2 separate regions of the Homo sapiens genome follow, and region 2 is linked to region 1. The links are contacts of gene promoters, found by promoter capture Hi-C in blood cells and fetal thymus (Javierre and others, 2016). All regions are on one chromosome and are shown on one strand. Each heading gives the region's core, a stretch centred on a gene start or on the middle of the fragment in contact. The rest is flanking DNA. Distances are from core to core; before and after follow the strand shown.

Region 1 (7,321 bases), core at 2,120-4,619:
CCAAAGTGCTGGGATTATAGGTGTGAGCCACTGCACCGAGCTGAGATTCATTCTTGCAATAATTATTTACTGGGGGCCTGGGGGCCTACAAAGTGCCAAGCACTATGCTGAGAAGGCAGAAACCTACTCAGAACACCCCTGCATTTCACATGTCACAAGTATGGCAGAAGTTTAGGAGGATAAGATTAGTGGAAGAGAGACCCTTAAACAGTTACAAGTCTTTCTAGCACCAAGATCATTTCAAAAAAGCTGACCGACATCCCCAGAGTTAAAAGTTATACTTATCAGTAGGAAAGAATAAACAGCCTACAGATTTCCTTAGAGGGGACATTGGAGAAACAAATACAAGATAGTAACTTCCTATGAACAAATTTAGAAATCTGCCTACAGAAGTGTGGCTTTGCAAATGTTTTTCTTCCTCTACCCTTTGTTTTTATCCCCAAGGTGTTTCCCTTTACCACTTAAAAATAACTGCTGATGCAGCTGAGGGATGGATTTGTCCACTCACAACCTCAGAATACATAATTCTTAGGCAGATCTCACTCTAGCTTCCCAAAGCGACAACTGCACAAAGTTATACCAAGATCAAAAACTGGTACTTCTGAGCCCAGCATGGTGGCCTGTAATCCCAGAACTCTGAGAGGCTAAGGCAAGAGGATTGCCTGAGGCCATGAGTTCATGAACAGCCTGAGCAACAAAGTAAGACCTCATCTCTGGAAAAACAAAGAAACAAACAAACAAAACAGGCACTTTTGGGCTAGATTTGTCCCACAGTTTATATAATCTAATTTTAAAAGCCTGGGCATACACTCTAGTTTTGGCCAAAATTTCTACCACTCCCTGTTAAGTAATATCTAGCCAACTCCTTACATTTGTGTGAGTGGCCTCGTCTCTGAAGATAAATTTGAGTTTATGACCTTTTATAGACATCATTTCCAGAGGCAGTTATTTTAAGGGCATCTACTGGGACACACACAAAAACCTTTAAAAAAATTTTTCAGGCTGGGCGCAGTGGCTCACACCTGTAATCCCAACACTTTGGGAGGCTGAGGAGGGTGGATCACGAGGTCAGGAGATCAAGACCATCCTGGCTAACATGGTGAAACCCCGTCTCTACTAAAAATACAAAAAAATTAGCCAGGCGTGGTGGTGGGCACCTGTAGTCCCAGCTACTCAGGAGGCTAAGGCAGGAGAATGGCGTGAACCCAGGAGGTGGAGCTTGCAGTGAGCCGAGATAGAGCCACTGCACTCCAGGCTGGGTGACAGAGCAAGACTCCGTCTCCAAAAAAAAAAAAATTCAGAAATATATAGACTTATGATATTGACTTAGTACTGATAGAATGTATATTTGTGTAATTTTCAGGGGAAAAGTTTGGATTATTTCTGATAGGCTGGATAATGACCCCCTTTCCCCAAAGATGTCTAAATCCCAATCTACAGAACCTATGAATGTTGTTTTGTTACATGGCAAGGAAGAATTAAGGTTGCAAACAGAATAAAGGTTGCTAATCATCTCACTTTAAATAAGAAGATTATTCTGGGTTATCCAGTGGGCTCAGAATGATCACAGGATCCTTTAAATATGGGACAGGTAGGCAGAAGAGCATCACAGTAATGCAGAATGAGAAACACTCACCAACCAGGGGCCTGGAGCAGGACCAAGGGCGGCCTCTAAAACCTGGAAGACACAGGGGACAGATTCTCCCCTATGGCCTCCAGGAAGGAATGCAGCCCTGCTCACACCTTGATTTTAGGTGAGACCCACTTCACATTTGTGATGTACAAAACTAAGATAAATTTGTGTTGTTTTGAGCCAAGTTTGTGGTAATTTGTTACGGCAGCAACTGAAAACTAATACAGTATTAAAGAATTTGAAAAACACAATCCTTTTGAATCTACCCTAAAGATTTGGTGATAAAAACAGGCAGTTACATTATGGCACATACCACAATAAAATTTTAGCCATTAAAGTAAATCTTTCAAGAATGTATACACATGGATCAATATTCCTAGTATACGGACAAGGCAAGGTTAAAATTAGATATTGTGTTAGTCCATTCCTAAAAATAACCCTGGAGGGAAAGACATTCAAACATTGTATGTCCTTAATTCTAGATGGTGAAAATATAAGATTAATCTCCTATTTTCCAATTTTTCTAGAGATCGAAAATAATCAAAAGGAAAAAATGATGGAAAAATGGAATTCTCAGTTCATTTGAAGAATACAGATTAGCAATTAAAAAATACAGCAGTATCTCAGGAAATAAACATTATTCTCATTTTACAAAAAAGTGTATGTGAACTTTAAAAAAATCTACACTACAATATGAATTGATATTATCTCTGGGTAGAATGCTAACAATTTTATTTTCTCCTTTACTGTATTCACTAAATGTTTCACATTAAATGTTGTATTACCTTTGAAATCAGAAGATACATTGTCTAAAACTGATACATCAAGAAATAGTTGTATAAGCATATTACCTAAACACAGAGGTTACCAACAGAAATTAAAAGTGGTTAAAAATGACTCCTGGGGAACTGTAAGAAGAGGAAGGTGAAGGGAAGAAATGGTTGCTTTCCATTCTAAATCTTCACACAATCTATTCTTAAAATCAGACAAGGCTGTGGTAAATTTTTTCAATTATTAAAAAAAATTATTTCTTCTAATAGGAATAGGCCTTTGAGAACCCTATTAATTGTAATAGGTTTCAATTCAGTTAGTCACTCAAGTATTATAAAATGCAACTGGATTTACAGAAATAATTTCCTACCTACACTGACAGTATATTTAAACTAAAAAAAAAGCATACAATGTACAAACAAATTTATTTACAAAAATTACAATTACAAACTGTACAAATTGAGACAATTTCCCATGCCTCCAACAGAAGCCAAGAGCCTTTACTGTCAAATGGCAGTTTTTGTTACTTTTAAATGACACACAAAAAGAAATATGATGCCTATTCAGTCATCCACTGCCAGTTTAAAAATGCTTTTCTAAATAATTCCAAGAAGCCTATTAGTGATATGTATATGGATAATTTCCCTCAACTCTATTTCTAGAATGGCTATGTACAAATCCAGCAAAACTGGAACAGAACAGGGTAAGAAAGCACATAGCAACTGCTTTTTCAACAGTAAATTTTGACTATTCCCCTAAATATCTACCTAGTGGCTTAAAACTAAAACTATGGTCTTTGGCTTTAAAAAGAAAGTCAAAAAATTTTGACTTTTAATGACTGCACAATTCTACCAAAGCCAGTGTTTACCTGGGTATTTTTTGTCACCTGTAGTTTACATTTCCCTGCTACTGTTAAAGAAACAGAATTCTACAGTATTCAATTCTGTATATTGTCTTTTAAGGTTTTTCAATCAGACTCACTACTACTGCTTGAGGAGTCCGTTGACATAATCTCTACATCATCTTCATTTTCTTTATTATGCCCAGGAGGTTCCAACAAAAAGTCACTACTATGATTTGGTGGTAACATATTCATCGACATGTCATTTGACTGCCATGGATACTGTGGAGCAAGGACATCTGGAGAAAAAAAGAAGCATAGATAAGAACAGCTCTATCTGTAATTAATCTAGTTCTTACTTTTCCCTTTATGCAACAATTTGAAGTATTTTTTTTAATTTTACTTTTTTCTCTTCTTTTTTTGACACAGGGTCTCATTCTGTCACCCAGGCTTGAGTGCAGTGGCACGAATACATCACTGAAGCCCTGACCTAGGCTCAAGCAATCCTCCTGCCTCAGCCTCCTGAGTAACTGGGTTACAGGTATGTGCCACCATGCTTGAGTACTTTTTAAAGTTTTTGTAGAGATGAGGTCTCACTATGTTAACCAGGCTGGTCTCCAACTCCTGGGCTCAAGCTATCCTGCTACCTCAGCCTCCCAAAGTGTTGGGATTACAGGCATAAGCTATTGTGCCAATTTTTTTAAGACTAGGAAAAAAATACACATTTAGCCAAATTAATAAAAATCAAATTTATCAAGGAAAAGTTGATATTTTAGCAACTGGGGACTTTTTTAAAAAAATCATACTACTCTGTAAGAAACTATTTAGTCAGTTGACATAATTTTTCTTTTGTAAGACATTTGTAATTACAAATTTTTCCTGTATCTATGTATCTATTATATGCATATATAATACATACTTATGTATACTAGGTTATGTAGATTATTCTACATATTATAAACAAGTAATAGGTACTTTAGTATTATAATAGATTTGAATGATTTCTTGATAGAGGAACTGCTATTGTAAGTGACTCTCATCAAAGAGAGGTTGATTAGCAATGTATGCATATGAAATACCTTAAAAAAGGGCCCAAGTTACATTTAAAGTCTGTATTTCTGAAGCAAAGGGACAGAGCACATAAACAGGTATAGTTCAAGACTCAAATAAAGAAGGCAGATTTTTAAAGGGTCAAAAGAAAGAGTTATGGTATTAACTAGAAAGGTATGCCAGTTAGCCTCAAATCTACCCTTCTCTCTGGCCCCTGAAACCATTTCTCCTTTGCCAGCTGCCACAATTAAGTTTTGTCAGTAGAGGGCACAGGTGGGACTCCACTAGCAAACAAGTTTCACTTCCTGGATCAGGTGGTTTTGTCTCCTTTACTGCTGTGATGCCTGGTTGGTGTGCAGGACATTAAGTGGTGTTCACCACAGCAACTTTCGGTGGCGCCTCTAAAGGTGGTTTCCTAGCAGGTTTCACCAGAATCCCAAAGGGCAGCTTCCCAGCAAGTCTCCCTGGAACCCCAGTGGGTAATTTCCTGCTTGCCAGCTCTGGCCTCTGATGCCTCATCTAACTTCTCTGCCATGGAGTGGGCCACATTACACTGCACCCTCTCCAATGACAGCACCATGATATGAGAGTATCGGCCTTGGGATGGAGCTGGGGAAGACTGTTTTTAGGTCTGTCCCTTCCTTGGTCCAAAATGTGGCAGTGACTCCCCATATCTGTTTTTCCTGTACTTTTAAAACATGAGAAATATGAGGTGATATCCAAGGATATCACAGTTGAGTTCCCCTGGTTGTACTTTAGGTAGCTAACAAAAATGATGCATACAAAGCATTATTAATGACACAGGGACAGCCTTATGATGTAACATTAAGCAAAAAATGTATAGGGGAAAAAAGGAAACAGGCTAAAATATTTAAAGTGACTGCCTCAGAAAGGGTATATTTTTTTCCTTTTTTAAATGCCTTTTTCTACTTCCCAAATGTTCTACCACATCAAAACAAAAGTCACCTACAAACTATAAAAGATGAGGAATAATATAAAACAAATATATATAAAAATAGCACAAACCTATGAAAAACTTGAGGAAAACTGAAGCTCAGAATGAACTGGGTCTCACAGAAATACTATTTTATAAAGTTATAAAAGTTTATAAAAAGCTATTGTTATTCATTTTGTTAACTTGGGGGTTGTTCAGGAGTGTGTTCACTTTATTCCGTAAACTATCTTACTCTATTTACATAGCATGTTTCACAATTATAAAAAAGCTATGTTTAGAGCAATAATTTAAAAAGAGAGGCCAAATGCCTGAGGAAGACAGTGTAATATTTACAAATAAGAGAAAGGCAGCTTGTTCTAATTTCATACCTCCCTCAAGGAGAATCTTTAGAGCAGAATAAACCGGCAAAGAATCTAGCTATTACAATGAACTGGGTCTGAGAGGCAGGCACACTGGCTCACACCTGTAATTCCAGTACTTTGGGAGGCTGAGGCAGGTGATTGCTTGGGGTCAGGAGTTCGAGACCAGCCTGGCCAACAGAGCGAAACCCCATATCCACTAAAAATACAAAAATTAGCCAGGCCTGGTGGCACACACCTGTAATCCCAGCTACTCGGGAGGCTGAGGCACAAGAATCACTTGAACCTGGGAGCCAAGATTTCGCCAACACGCTCCAGCCTGGGTGACATAACAAGACTGTCTCAAATTTACAAAAAAAAAAAAATTGTGTCGGGAATCTCAAACTTGCTTTACCGCCAGATATTCCAACCTTGTCATCTCTGGAAAACCCTGATCTGTTTGAAAACACTCTTCGGCTTAACATTACCTGGCAATCTTCCTGCTGCAAGTGCATCTCCTGGTAAATGGCCATTCACGCCATTAGTGGAAGGATTGTTCATCTGACCCAGTAACCCACTTCTCATCTCTAAATCAGTTGGGTAGGGTCTCCGGGGGTCCCCTAAAACAATAAAGACTGCATTTAATTCAATCATATTTTAAAAAATAAGTGTTAATATGTTATTTGACATACTCATTTTCGCTGGTTCATGCTGAAAAGTTCAGGCTACATTTTCAATTTTGAAATACAGAAGTCATCTGGCCAGGTGCAGTGGCTCACGCCTGTAATCCCAGCACTTTAGGAGGACGAGGTGGGTGGATCACCTCAAGTCAGAAGTTCAAGACCAGCCTGGCCAGCATGGTGAAACCCCGTCTCTACTAAAAATAAGAAAATTAGTCAGGCGTGGTGGCACGCACCTATAATCCCAGCTACTCGGGAGGCTGAGGCAGGAGAATCGCTTGAACCCGGGAGGCAGAGGTTGCAGTGAGCTGAGATTGCACCACTGCACTCCAGCCTGGGCCACAGAGCAAGACCCTGTCTCAAAAAAAAAAAAAAAAAAAAAAGAAAGAAAGAAATATAAAAGTCACCTTATAAATTGTTATTAATAGCATATTACTTTTTAAAATACACGCATTTTAATTTCTTTTCTGAATCTTCCCAAGAATATACTATTTTCTACACTTTAAAAAAAAAGAGATGTCATTTTTTTGTAGACATTCCAGATGACAACTTAAGAAAATTATAATAATCTCAATTATTCAAACTTAACTGTATTTTCTAGCAAGAAAATGACAATGATTATGCTGCAAGGGAGAAAAAAATCATGACACTTATAAGACAGAAAGGACTGGAATGTTTAATAGAAGGACTGTCTCAATTTAAAATCTTTTTTTTTTTTTACATTTTTCATCTTTTTGTTTTACTTTTATTTTCCTCATGCCACCTTGTCTAAGATAAAACCTTTTTCTAACCAACCTCTTTGATCTTGTAATTCAGAAACTAATTCGTGTAAGTGGCAAAATAGCAGGAGCAGGTAATGTCCATCCCAAACATGAAAGCACACTAAATAGCAGTATGTGGTTGACAAAAACTTGACCAGATTTGGATTGACTTTTTGGGCACATCTCACCAACTGCAGCTTATCCATCCCCAAAATTATAGTCACCCTTAGTGCTTTCAGCATGGTAACACAGCACCTTCAGAAGTTATTTTGAAGTGGAGATAACTACTAAT
Region 2 (7,321 bases), core at 1,522-4,021, 1.3 Mb before region 1:
GGGATACAGAGATGAATGAGAGAGCTCTACATTTCTGGGATTCTCTGCCATGTTCTTACTCTTCTCTAGCAGGCAGATGCAGAGGCTAAAACAGCCTCTCAATCTTCAAAAAGGTCCTGAGACTTAAGGAGGTAGTATAGCCTCTCCTTCTATTCCACAAAAAGAGATTACTATTTCTGGAAACTTCTTCACAGTATTAGGTCACTAAATTTTTTTTTCTCACTGTGTAACTCCAATAACTAAAGATAAGACATACTAGGCCCTTCTTTTTCAGACTAAGATTTGATCTCTGTACACTAGATATCAGAATTCTGCTACCTAGTATTTTTTTTTCAATTTAGATTCCCTGAAGCCAAAATAGAAAAAGAAAAAATTATATAAAATAATAACCAAATAAATATCCCCGATGCACTAACCCCTCTCTCTAAAAAATTTTTTTTGACATTCGACAGAGTATAAATATAAATTGTGAGCATTTAACACCATTAAAAAGAGGTAAAAGAATGAAGTTGAGTAAATCATGTGCATGATTGTAATTATTTTCTTTATTCTTTCTCAGATCGTTTATTTATATATATCCCCTATTATTTTCAGCTTATTTTTTACAGCTTCTATCCCACAAGGAAATACAGTTATACTATACTTGTAATCAAATGATAAAGCAGGTGATAAAACTCGCAGACCCAGGGTAATCTTGGGTCAAAGCTGGCAAGAAAATCTGAAAGCAGACTCTCTGGAGCCACTACTTAGGCATGCTCATTCAGTTGTTGATTCAATTACAACGAATCTCAACGAAATCCGCTTCAAGCTATGTAGTCCACTCTTAACCCGACCATGCTGGAAGTAAAGTGAATAGAAAATTGCACCTGAGCTCAACATTGTGACTCTGGTGCTTTGAATACTTTCTTACTTTTTTAGAAGAATTGAATGGTTTGTCTTGACTCCTCATTAAGTATAGCCAACTATGTGTTCTAGTTGCTTGGGATACAGGCATTTTAGAAACAAATAAGTGGACTTATTTTTCCCTCCAGGAATGTCATCATGTTCTAACTGTGCTGTTTTTATAACAAACTTGAGATTTTCAGACTTTGTTGGCAGGCAGAATCATTGTAGAAACAACAGAAATTTTGGGCCCAGTCTTTGGGGAAGCAAATGAGGTATCCAACATGGGTAGTGCCAAGAAATTAAGGTCATTTGGAAAAAACATGGTTTGGTACGCACTTATAGCTATAGTTATTGCAGTTAAACGTATTACTATATTTATAGTCAAATTGGTATTTGGATTTCTCAAGGCTGGTTGTTGACCTAAAATTTAATTGTGATGGTAAATGTTCAAATAAATCTAAAACAAAATTCTATTACTCAAGGATGGACACTAAGAGACAAACAGTATATCATGTATTAGTTTTTGACATTTTCTCACTATATAGTTCACATGTGCAAAATATCCCTAAAAACAGGAAGACTGCTCAGATCTTCTGCATAAGTTACGTAGGCAGCAAGCTATGCACAATTTCTCCTTGTGCTAGCTCTAATTCCATTCCTTTGCTCCTCAGGAGAATATCATGCCGTCTGAAAATGGCTTGATAAATGACAGGAGGTCAGTATTTGCAGTTAAATGGCCTTAGTTCCAGTTCTGGTTCCACCACTTACTAGCTATGTGGCCTTAGATAAGTAGGTTACTTCTCTGAGCCTGTCTCCTCATTTGTAAAACAGATGGATAGGAAAGAAATGATATCTCATTTGGCGGTATAAGAATTAACAATGAGTTAATGCTGTGAAAGCATTTTACAAACTAATGTACCACATTACACACTGATCTAGATTTGAACATTTACCATCGTAATTACATTTTAGATCAATGTGCCTGACACATTATCCTTAAACATGGATAAAAATTTATTTAAAAATCATGACCATGTATAATTTTCAGTGCTCATTTTTCACTCTAAAATATTTTAAATTATATTCTGAAGCTTATGAATTTTTCTTAAAAATAAAAGCAGAACTTCCTTAATTAGGACTATGGTAGCATATATAGAGTTAGGTGAGTAGTGGACGGTCAAAAATATTTTAGTTAAAAAAAACTTGCAAGCCCATTGGGATTCAGTAATTATTCTTAAACAACTAGAAATATCAAGTAGCACAATGAATAGATTAATATGAAAGTCAAATAATATAAAGCACATGTGTGATAAATAATACTTAACTTCTGAGGCTAAAATATATACATAAAATAAGGAGTAATTTAGGTAGAAGTTTGTCCTTTTTATTCTACTGCAGCAAAGGTCCATGTGTAAAGAAAGAAGTATCTGCTAATGCTGAAGATTAATCATCATTCAAGCATTAAAAATCTTGTTATTTACTGGTTTGATGGAAAACAATATTTTTCACTGCCAAAAGCTTTCCTATTTCTATCAAATTTAGTGTTAGATATAATTAATTTTATAGGCAGGTTTTCACTTCAAGTGTCTGAATATAATTAAAAACTTACTAGAAGTAGCATTTTATATTCTAAAATAAAGTTAAGAAAATATCACAGAATCCTAATTTTTCATAGTTACATTATCTAGATCAAGCTAAAGTTTCCTAATACTTGCCTCTTGCAATCGAAAAACAACGGGGATTTTCTTTTCTGTACAGGCAGCTATGAAGTTATCAGGGAGTAACTGTCCATCTAAAAGAAACTGGTCATCTTTCCCTTGATCAATTAGTATGTCCAGCTGAGATCCTGGATAGGATTTCACAAGGTGGGTAGCATCATAAGCCTGTAAAAAGAGAAGTAACATTGAAAAATAAATTCAAAGATACTCTTCAGGATATACTATACTAGTACCAAACAGAAATTTAAAGTTATTTAAGCTCTTAGGCTGATTAAATCAGAAATATGCTTTTAAGTTGGTTCAAAATCTGACTTGCCAGGCTTTTATTTACAAGGTCTTCGGAATTCTATTTTCTAATAATAGTCTCTTCCCTACTTTCAAGCAGTCCTAGACTAGTGGCAAGAATCCCATATCTCAGGGATTCTTAAGAAAATGGCCTTTTTCCTTCTAAACCTTTAATATTCTTAATCTCCTCTTGGCTCCAGCAAGAACATGATTTTTTTTCCTTTGTAACTCCTTCCACAAATTGGAAACTAGAAGCTTCTTCTAACTCCATGATCTTTTTCCAAATATTCTCTATTTCAGATAATCTTTTTTTTTATGTCTCTTCTTTATGGCTGTAATTCCAGACATAAACACATTCAGCCTTCTTTTTTGCTGTTGAACAGCACCAAACCTCTGCTATCTACATAAGCTTTCAGAAACACCTGGTGTGAATCATCTGAATCATATCAACATCATCTCAAATTTATTCTCTGAGGAGCTGCCACTAGTTACAATTTTATGTTTTATCATCCACCTCGAAATATTCTTATTCATATATATTCATTAACCACAACTTTATACATTGACCAAGACAAACAACCACGAAAAGATTTGTCCTCTAAGTATCCTGCTTTTGAAGGTTCTATTTCCTTTCATCTTAGAGTGGGAGAGGACCTATAAAGTCTGACTAGTTAGTTCTAAATTCTATGATTTCATAATTCTACATGGTTTCCTGATTTCAATCGTAAATTAAATAATACCCTAAATACAACATAATTAAGACAGTAAAATCTACTGTCACTTGGAGAAAAGTACATATCTAGATTCCTTTTTAGGTTACCTGTACCTCTACCTCTCACCTTCACCCTCCAATTAGTTGGTCTTTTACCCAATTCTTCTATTAGACCATAAGCCCCTGGTGGATGTGAAAGGGTCACCATTTTCGTGACAAAACAGCTCAGAACCTAGCATAGACTTTGCACCAGATGAAGACTCAAAACACTGATGTACATGCAATGTCAGTTCTCAAAGGACCTAATCCTAAATCATTTCTAGCATTCTTCAAACATAGTAAAAATTCAAGCCTAAACAAAACTGTAATCTAGTTACTAAAGGATGAACCCTTTAATTAGTTAGAATTTCAGTAATCATCCTTAAATAAAATGTGTTGGAATTTCAATAATCATCCTTACATAAAATAGGGGTTCATGTAGGAATGAACCCTGAACACAGAACTATACTTTAAATACTTTAAGACAAAGAAGTTGCATTTTTTACCCATTCAAGTATTTTCTGCTTGTTAACAATACACATCATGATGAGTTCATTTGCAAAGTATTCAAACTCTTGGCAGAGTTTGTAAATGGCCCATTTCTGCACAAGAGTAACATGGCTCTCAGGAAAAAGGGTCATTTTTATTTCCACTTGAAAGCACCTGTTTGCATGCTTGAAAAAGCAATCTTGCTGTGGGAATATTCACATAAATGTACATAACAGAATATCTATTTTTAAAGACTCGTGTCTGGAATTTAAAATCGAGATCTGAAATGCTAAATTTTGAAAACAAAGTAATTTAAAAAGCCAGGCTTCTTTGCTTCTATTACACAACTGAGCACATAGTTAATAAGAGGCAAGTCTAAATTTAGTAACACAGGTTGAACATCCCTAATCCAAAAATCCAAAATCAGAAATGCTCCAAAATCTGAAACGTTTTGAGTACCCACATGACGCTTAAAGGTAATGCTCCAAGGAAATACCCATTGTAGCATTTTGAATTTTTAGATTAGGGATGCTCAACCTGTAATATATGGTATTTTTAGATTAGGGATGCTCAACCTGTAATATGTGGTATTTTTTGGTTAATTTAGAAGTGATGTTAATTTAGAAATAAAAATATAAATTAACCATTAGTAGAAAAAAAATATAGCCCCAGAATATCTGCCATGATTCAATACAATTAGAAAGTAGGGTTTTTTGTTGATTTATATATATATATATATAAAATAATATATATAATAATATATATAAAATAATATATATAATAATATATATCTCATATATTGATATATATATCGATATATATATATCTTTTGCTAATTTGTCTCAGCTCTAGAGCCCTAACATGAGCAGGGTAGGAATATAATATATGTCCAACCTTTTAAACAAACTTGAAACTTAAGAATGAGTATTAAGACAGCCATTCAGTACCTACCTTCCATTTACTTTGATCTGTTCCCAAATATCCACTAAAGGCTTTTTTGCCCCAGGGACAGAGTACAGGGTTGCAAATTGGAGCAAATGCTGACACAGACTTCAGAAACAAAAGAAATTTAAAAACAAGTTATATTTTGCTAAATTAAATATGAATAGATATTTGCAACTTACTTAAAAATATAGAAGTTACTTGCAACTTGCTTAAAAATTCTGACTTGCCATGAAAACCCTGTGAACAATTTTCCTTTTGATATATTGCTGGCTTAGATTGCAGGCCTTTCCATAATACATCTTTTGTGTATTCTATTAAGAGAGCTAATAAGTATAGTTGCTAAAATAATGCAAAACAATACATTGCAATTTAAGATACAAACAGAAGTCTATGTTCAGCGTTTCTGCTTTTTTAGCACTGAAAATTAATCTATAGTGATATAAAACAGTTCATGCTTACCTTAGTGAACATGTTACTAAATCTGACACATTTCTCTTAAACAGTACCAACAAAGCAGTGAGCAATGCATTTCAATATGACAGAATTTTTAATACAACTCTGTGTTCTATACAATGTTCTTTTTCACTGGATGAGATGCAGAGATGGGATCTCTCAACTTCAGAGTACTCATCAATGTAAATGTTTAGTGGTATCTACTAGCTTTTTTAAAGGACAAAAAAATCAACTAAGTTTGCTTTTCTACCTCAGACATGATAGACTGCCTTAAAAAATGGAAATAAAAGTGCTTACTTAGAAAGCCCACTGTCAGGCCATGAATTAATAAAACTTGATAATAAAGCGTACCAAAAACAAAATATTTGATGCCACAGAAAGAAACTGTTATGAGAAATGTTTTCATTTCTCAGTAGCACACCTAAAATAATCAAGTTCTTCCTAAGAGGAGGAAATGAATTAAACCAATTTTAAGGGCATGAACAGCCCTGTAAATTTAAAGGCAGAAGAAATTTTAAGATGCTAGTTGCTTTAACACTTCCTTATTCAACTCTTGTAACATGCTGTTCTGCACAGTATGACATACTACATATGGTAGTTATTCAAATTTGACTCTGGGAAAGGCTGAGAGTGATGTTTTTTAATCAAGCTGCATTTCAATTTTCATTAGAGGCATTAAGAACACAATTCTTAAGCTTCTACAAATCATATCTTTTACCTCAGAAAATCAAAGTCAACTTTACAAAGACATCCCTGGTAAGAATATAAATGATAGATCCTGCCACTATAACATTAATCAGTAATAATAACCTTTACAGAAAAAAAGTGTGTTCAAAACTATAGTTGGAATAAAAACAATTAAAGGAGAAGCTACATTTTATAATACTTCCAGTAGGCCAATAAGAAAGCACTCTTGCTGAATTCCTATGCGTCTGATTCTGCAGCATACACTCTATGGTCAAATTAAATACCCACCCTTCAAACACCCCAAAGTTCTCAACACTAGAAAAGTTTAGTTCCAATACTAACAATATTGTAATTTTACTCTTTGAAGGTTCCTAATATTATGTTATTCAAGAGAAATATTTATCACTAGAAGTTTAGATAATCTTACTTTGTATTTTCCAGGATTTTTCAAAGCACAGATCAGAGCTCCATGACCTCCCATGGAGTGGCCAAAAATAGACATCCTTTGGGGATCCACTGGAAAATTGGCATTTATGAGTTGGGGAAGCTAGAAAAAATTTAATAGTGTGACAAAAGATATCAAAGAAAATAAGTTCAGACATTTCAAAGTTACAGAAAATAATTACACAATCAATACTGCCAAATCATAGTCTTACAATGGTTTGAACTAGTAACAATGAAAACAAAACAAAACTAAATCCTCAGGCAGACCATGATTATTAATATATCCCTGGAAAATATATGGTACAGACTTCTTAGAAAACACTTTAGGAAGGTGATGCAGAAAGAACCTTTAAAATGCTTTTAAGTTTTGACCTAGTAATTTCACTTTTTGGAATATATTCTAAGGAAAAGTCCTTAGGGAGAAAACATTATGCACAAATATAATCAATGCAGTAATATTTATTAGGGTAAAAACATATACAAAACCATAAGTATTCTATAAGAGGAAAAAGTCAATTATGGCATATGACAGAATATTACACAATTATTAAAATCAGAATAACACTAGAAAATATTTTTATATGTAACTTAAAAAGAAGAAGAAAATAAAAAAGTTTAGAATTACGTGAAAACTAGTCATAGAAACAGTCTGGAACATACCAAA

Evidence for each region. The method cuts DNA at HindIII sites, captures the fragments that hold promoters and counts their contacts. A CHiCAGO score of 5 or more calls a contact.
Region 2: a fragment that was not itself captured here is called in contact with the fragment with the promoter of MED4-AS1 in region 1 in 1 of 17 cell types (M1 macrophages); the score reaches 6.4 in M1 macrophages.

The regions. Positions count from the first base shown.
Region 1 is chr13:48,073,768-48,081,088 of GRCh38, forward strand. It overlaps MED4-AS1 (MED4 antisense RNA 1), which reads left to right and starts at 3,370. Exons shown (of 3, transcript NR_046511.1): 1 at 3,370-3,584; 2 at 3,675-3,786; 3 at 6,010-6,226. MED4 (mediator complex subunit 4) reads right to left here. Exons shown (of 7, transcript NM_014166.4): 6 at 6,077-6,208; 7 at 1,957-3,544. The coding sequence ends at 3,372. The HindIII fragment of the contact is 10,244 bases long and covers 1-7,321 here.
Region 2 is chr13:46,774,856-46,782,176 of GRCh38, forward strand. ESD (esterase D) reads right to left here. Exons shown (of 10, transcript NM_001984.2): 7 at 6,641-6,760; 8 at 5,080-5,178; 9 at 2,601-2,768. Among named protein-coding and RNA genes, the nearest start is that of ESD, 19 kb to the right of the region's middle. The HindIII fragment of the contact is 740 bases long and covers 2,402-3,141 here.